Regions from separate parts of the Homo sapiens genome. Here region 1 is linked to region 2. The links are contacts of gene promoters, found by promoter capture Hi-C in human tissues and cell types (Jung and others, 2019). All regions are on one chromosome and are shown on one strand. The core of a region is centred on a gene start or on the middle of the fragment in contact, and the rest is flanking DNA. Distances in the headings are between cores, read along the strand shown.

The links. Contacts are between HindIII fragments. The study calls those that stand out against the background at their distance.
Region 1: a fragment that was not itself captured here is called in contact with the fragment with the promoter of BPIFC in region 2 in 1 of the 25 tissues and cell types used here (lymphoblastoid cells).

What each region holds. Positions count from the first base shown.
Region 1 is chr22:32,787,608-32,791,013 of GRCh38, reverse strand. All of the region lies in intron 6 of SYN3 (synapsin III), which reads left to right. Among named protein-coding and RNA genes, the nearest start is that of TIMP3, 12 kb to the left of the region's middle. The HindIII fragment of the contact is 6,054 bases long and covers 1-3,406 here.
Region 2 is chr22:32,462,407-32,465,960 of GRCh38, reverse strand. BPIFC (BPI fold containing family C) reads left to right here and starts at 1,515. Exons shown (of 17, transcript NM_174932.3): 1 at 1,515-1,587. The HindIII fragment of the contact is 9,351 bases long and covers 1-3,554 here.

The DNA.
Region 1 (3,406 bases), core at 431-2,930, 320 kb before region 2:
CACTCCTCACTATCTCTGAATACTCTAGTGATCAGTTAAAAAGATTTTGTGAACACTAAATGTGATTGTGTTTCTTTTCTCCGGTAGTCACATCTTAGGTCTTTGTTCATTCCGTTCCCTTGACCTTTTCTCGTAGCTACTATTACTTGTCTGCGATGGTGAAGAGCAAGGTTCTAGAGACCCCAGTGCTGCACTGGAGCTGGCTCACCCTGGCTTGTCAGAGCCTATTGTTATACATTCGGGAATTTGCAGGTCGGTCATTAAACATAGGCGTTATTTAAAATTTTGGCTGGGCACAGTAGCTCACACCTGTAATCCCATCACTTTGAGAGGCCGAGGCAGGCGAATCACTTGATGCCAGGAGTTTGAGACCAGCCTGGCCAACATGGCGAAACCCCGTCTCTACTAAAAATACAAAAAATTAGCCAAGCTTGGTAGCACGTGCCTGTAGTCCCAGCTACTTGGGAGGCTGAGGCATAAGAATTGCTTGAACCCAGGAGGTGGAGGTTGCAGTGAGCCAAGATCATGCCACTGCACTCCATCCTGGGCAACAAAGCGAGACTCCGTCTCAATAATAAATAAATAAATAAATAAATAAATAAATAAAGTTTAATTTAATTATATAATGTTATAACTAATAAATTATATTAATGAACACTTGAAACTCCTCACTCCTTAATTGTTTATTACAGTATACTCTTATTTATGCTTTCAGGGTAACTTTCATCTGTTGTTTCTGTATGGTGGAAATATTATATAATGATGTGCTACTGCATTTAGGAACATTACCTTGGTAACTTAAAATTGGCTATGATGGAAGTATTTACACCACAGAAATTGGCAAACACTGCAAATGAGGGCTCTTTGTACTGTAGAGCTACTTGTTAAATATTTACCAGCTTACTACTGCCTTTTCTTAACTGTGTGACCTTCGACAAGTAACTTAACATTCTTGTGCCTCCGTATTCTCGTCTGTGATACAGGGACAACAATAGCGCCTACCTCACAGAGTTACAAGGAATAAATAAGATGATATATGTGGAAAGCGTTTAGCAGAATTCCTGGCACAGAGCCAGCCAATCAGTGAATAGTCACTGTCAATATTATTAAGACAATCTACAAGTAGCCTTTCCTCCCACCCAAGCTGGGAGCACCCATCAGAGATGACCTAACTTGAAGTTCATCACCCTGTACTGGGATTGTCAGTTTCTGTGTAACTTTCCCTCTTTAGAAAGTGAGCTAATTGACAGGGCTAATTGAATTTCCTCTTCCAAGAACGTAACCAATACTGATACCCAGTAGGTCCTCAACAAATTTTTGGATTAAATTTAGTTAAAACAGTTTAGAGGCTACTGAAAAATCAGAATTAGGAAACATGGAAGCTTCCCCAATCACATAAATATTTAAGTACTAATAATTCTCCACACAAAAGCATTGCTGGAACATTGTGTTTGAGGTTCATTTCTTAGGAGTACCCCATAGTAAAGTCATTCCAGAACTGAAAGCGCCCTGAATTGGTGCCTGGACAGACCCACTGCACAATGAACTCTGTTTTATATCAGAGTTCTCAGTGTATATAATATGGAGTCCTCTGATTGTCTTAGCATGTCAAGTAGGAATATGATCGGTAACTTTCCAAAACACTTGAAGGTGGCTGGAACTGCTTTTTGCCTCAAGTATTTAGAGAAAAAAGACCTTGATGTCACATCAACAAACTCAAAAAGAGATTGTGCATACCTGGAGTGCTTTTTCTAGGCCTGGGAGGCAGTGATTGGGGGCTGATTTCAGGAGGAAAGAAGGGGAGAGGCTGAAGGCATGTTGAAAAATCATTTTTTTGTCTATTGCTCCTTTGTATGAACTGGTTGCTGGCTTATGCAATGCCCAGTAATTAAAATGGCTGGAATGCTTTGCATTTTTAAGGCAAAGTGAAGGCGGCTCAGAGGCCTGGAGCCGGAGCCAGCTGGAGGGGGGCCCAGCAATCCTACCCTGGCCGCCCCTTGGCCTGGCAGAGGTGACTGGCATCTGGCTTGTTGGGGGTGGGGGGGCAGCATGTGGCAAGGAGGAGGAAGGAAGTCAGAGGTGTCCCGAGTTGTTCCCACTCCTCTCCCCTTTCCCCAGGCAGGTGGGTGCACCAAGATGCATGCCTCTAGAATGAAGGTAGGCACAGGCCGCCCACCTTCTAGAAGTCCGTAATGACTAGTGGCAATGCCAAGTCATGATAAACAATAATAAAGCTGTTCTTTATTAAATATCTATCATGTTTCAGGTCCTGTATTAATAACATTGATTCCAGGACTTTCACAGGTGCTCAAATCCTTGATATAAAATGGTATAGTATTTGCACATAATCTAAACATATCCTCCCACATACTTTAAATCATCTCTAGATTACTTATAATATCTAATACAATGTAAATACTAAGTAGTTGTTATACTGTATTTTTAAATCCATATTATTATTATTTTTTTTTTTGAGATGGAGTCTTGCGCTGTTACCTGGGCTGGAGTGCAGTGGCACGATCTCTGCTCACTGCAACCTCCGCCTTCTGAGTTCAAGCGATTCTCCTGCCTCAGCCTCCTGAGTAGCTAGGATTACAGGGGTACACCACCATGCCCAGCTAATTTTTTGTATTTTTAGTAGAGATGGGGTTTCATCATGTTGGCCAGTCTGGTCTCGAACTCCTGACCTCGTGATTCGTCCATCTTGGCCTCTAAAAGTGCTGGGATTATAGGCGTGAACCACCACGCCCAGCCAAATTCATGTTTTTTTTAATATAGTCGTATTGTTATTTTTTATTGTTTGTTTTTTCCAAATGTTTTCCATCCACGGTTGGTTGAATCCCGATGTGGAATCCACAGATACAGAGGGCTGACTGGATTATCCGATTTCAAGAGAAAAAAAACGAGATCATATTACTCTTCTGCTCAAAACTCTATGGTGGATCCCTAATGCACTTGAAGTCTAAATGCCTTGGCCTTCTAGACCCAGCGTGGCATTGCCCCTGCTGTGGCTGTCCATGTCTCTCCCACTCTCACTTGTGTTTACACTACACTGACCTCCTTTTCCTCCTTTAACCAAGCCAAACTCAGTCCCAGCTCCAGGACTGCCCTGACCCTCCCTCTGCCTCTCCCAGGTCTTGCCATGGCCAGTCAGATCCTTCTAATTCTGCAGCTTCCAGCTCAGATATTACCTTCTCGGGGAGGTGTGCCGCAGCGGAGGAGCACAGCCATCCCCAGTCACTGGAGCCTCCCAGGGTCTCATTTTTCACATGGATTTTTCTTTTCTGGGCTTATCAGTATCTGAAAAAAACTTATTAAAATGTTTATTAATTGTCCTTTAATTCTAAACAATTAGTGTTTCTAGCTGCACAAAGAAAACAGTGCAAGATGCCTGTCTTATTCACTG
Region 2 (3,554 bases), core at 266-2,765:
ACAATGCCAAGTGAAAGCGTCTGTGGTTCCTTTCAGACTGACTTATCATCCTGATTTTCCCAGGACTGTTCTGGTTTTAGTACTGAAAATCCTGCATTCTTGGGAAACCAGGACAGTTGGTCACCGGGTCTTACCCAGAAAAGTGTAGATAAGCCATAAGAACTTCATGCAATCAGGCTGGGTGCGGTGGATCATGCCTGTAATCCCAGGACTTTGGGAGGCCAAGGCAGGTGGATCACTTGAGGTCAAGAGTTCAAGACCAGCCTGGCCAACATGGTGAAACCCCATCACTACTAAAAATACAAAAATTAGCCAAGTTTGGTGGTGCACACCTGTAATTCCAGCTACTCAGAGGGCTAAGGCACAAGAATCGCTTAAACCCTGGAGGCAGAGGTTGTAGTGAGCCAAGATCATGCCACTGCACTCCAGCCTGGGTGACAGTGAGACTGTCTCAAAAAAAAAAAAACCAAAAAACAAAAAAAAAAACTTCATACAATCAAATCCCTGGCCATCTAAAATACATTAATGGCCGGGTATGATGGCTCACATCTGTAATCCCAGCACTTATGAAGCCAACACGGGTGGATCAATCACATGAGGTCAGGAGTTCGAGACCAGCCTGGCCAATGCAGCGAAACCCTGTCTGTACTAAAAATACAAAAAATTAGCTGGGCGTGGTAGCGCACTCCTGTAATCCCAGCTACTAGGGAGGCTGAGGCAGGAGAATTGTTTGAACCCAGGGGGCGGAGGTTGCAGTGAGCCAAGATCGCTCCACTGCACTCCAGCCTGGGTGACAGAGTGAGACTCCATCTCAAAAAATAAATAAATAAAAATAAAAATAGATAAAACACATTAACTAAAATGAATTTATTGGAGATGAGAGTAGGGCTGGAGTTTGGAATCTGAAAATGTTAAGTTGCATAATAGTTGATGAACCCACCCACCCAACTTAGGTTTAAGGAATGCTGGAACAGTAAGTCATTAATAACATTCTGAAAAGGAGCGGACGGACACTGAGAGATGCCAACTGAGGTCCTACCCTGAGTGATAAGGTAACTAGGTCAGCCCGATTGTCAAGCCTCATGCTTTCAGACTGAATCTGATGATCCACCACAAGTCCCAAAGGTATTCTGGGCAGTAGTAGAGCCATCCACCGCAGGCACCCTGACCAGAAGGAACCAGCTTATGATTCCAGACAGGAAAATTCTTCCTCTTCCAATGCAGTTTAACACCGTTTTCAATCATTTTGGTAAAGTAGCCATCACAATTTCACAAGTGGTGTGTGTGTGTGTGTGTGTGTGTGTGTGTGTGTGTTTTGCAGGAAGATAATTATTGCATAGGTGGCACTGTCTGTTTATCTAGGTAGATACTGTAGTGCTCATTCATGCCATTGGGTAATTGTAGTGAAGCAATTATGTATCACATTTTGAAAGAGGCATTAAAAAAATTCACCACTGAGATGAGTCAGACTTAATTATCTTGGCTTTTTAGCAGCTGAGTTTAAGGCGCAAGGTGGAGAACACATCAGCTTCAAAGGCAGAGAGAATCGAAGGTGCTCTCCAGCTTTGGACACTTCCTCTGCTTGAGGTAAGACTCATGAACAAACTTCAGGTCTCTGCCAGCCATGATCTCCAAACTGGAGATGTCCCAGATTTGGTAGGACACTTTGAACAGGCAGCTGTCATATATCCTGGGTTATTATTATTGTCTGCCTAGATTTTTCTGTATCTTTGTTTGTTTGTTTGTGTGATGTCACATATGCGCACCTGGAGGCTTCTTAGGCAAAAGCTTTAGTGACAGCTAAACAGCCATAAGAGAGAAAAGAGTTGGTTTAAACCACCTACTTAGTTTTGCATCATGGAACAATGTTAAGAGGGTTGCTCAGTGATCTGGACTTATTTTTGCCTCCATTTCAGAGGGGAACCCAGCACAGTGGCAGAAAATTCTATCTTGTCTCTCAAAATCAGCATGGTTAGGACTAAGGAGTTGTTATAATCTCTGTGCTTTCAAGGCAGGTCTTAAAGCACATCAGTGACCTAGATCCTGCCAGAGCAAAACTAGCCACCCACTTGCCTGGACTGTTGAACTTGTTGGTGTTAGGCATAGAGTTTTGGGGAAAAGACATGCTATGAATTCTCAAGGTCCTTGTCATTAGAGATGTTGCTATAAAACTAGATGTGAGGAGTGGATCCCTTGAAATATTCTGCCCACGTTCCATACCTGTCGATTTAGACTTCTTATGTACGGTCATTTTGTCTTAACCAATATGTCGGAATACCCTTCTAGTTTAGACTTCTTTAAACCTGTTGAACTTAATTTTTCAACCTGCGCCTCTGTTTTGAAGGCTACATTTTACTCATTCATTACTCCCTTAATCGGTTTTTCCAGAGTCAGTCAAAGCTCTTGCCAAGCAGCAGTAGTAGTAGGACCATCTGTGAGTTTCAGGTGTTTTCTAAATTGGACTGGCATTTTCTTAGCTGTCAGGATGACTCACACAAGGACCATTTAATTTAGGAGTATTATTCTGTCTGTGTATTTGTATGGAAAAATAATGACTACTGAGATTTTGAATCTTGGAAAGAAGCAATTCCCCAGAAGCAACAAAATAGATAACTTGCTGGTGGGGTTTTTAAGTGATCTTGGATCCTTTTAACAGGCAACTAGCCCTGCCTGCACTTGTCAGCCAAATTACTTAACCTTTTAGTAGTCATCACCTTGCTTGACAAGGTTCCTTTCCTCCCCTGCCCATAAGTTATCATCGTAACTGAACAATTCAATGAAAAGTTATGTACAATTCACCCCTTCATACCCCAGTAATTTCTTTCACTCATAAAATTTCTAGAGGAAAAATATGTTTTCCTGCCTGTAATTTTGGATTCCTGGATCTCCATCAAAGTGTACCACTTCAGAAACTTTTTTTAACCAAGAAGGGAAAACAGGTTTTACTGCTGGCAGGGAATTTAAAACTCCAGTTGTGTCCAAGAAAATAAGAAGGGATTTGCACTGTGATGCTTGAACGTTTCTAGATGCTTATTGAATTTTTCCACCTTGAAAATGGTGTTTGGTTTTCTGTGCACATGTACCCTAGAACTTAAAGTGTAATAAAAAAAATTGAGTAACTTTTAAACAACAACAACAAAAAGGAAAATGGTGTCAAGCAACTCCTATTTAAAATTCCCAGATGAAAATGAAAACCCTAGCATGTATCGAGTCATTCAATAAAAATAAATTCATCAACACTAGAATTAGGAACCAGAAGAACAAGGTTGGGTTCCCAGGTGCCTTACTTACTGTGGGATCTTGGACGAGTCATCAGATTCTCTAAGCCTCCATGTCCACGTGTCTAAAATGGGAGTAAGATAATAAGAACATCCACTTCAAAGAACTGTGAGTTTTGTAAAGGGTAAAGAAATAAAAATTTATTATTTTAGTTGTTATTCCATTCACAAGTAATATTTCTTCTCTGGTTTATTATGTTTTTTTCACTATAGAAATGGAGAGCTCTATATTATATATGATAGTTTGGTTTTTCCTTTTTTTCTAACCATTTGTAG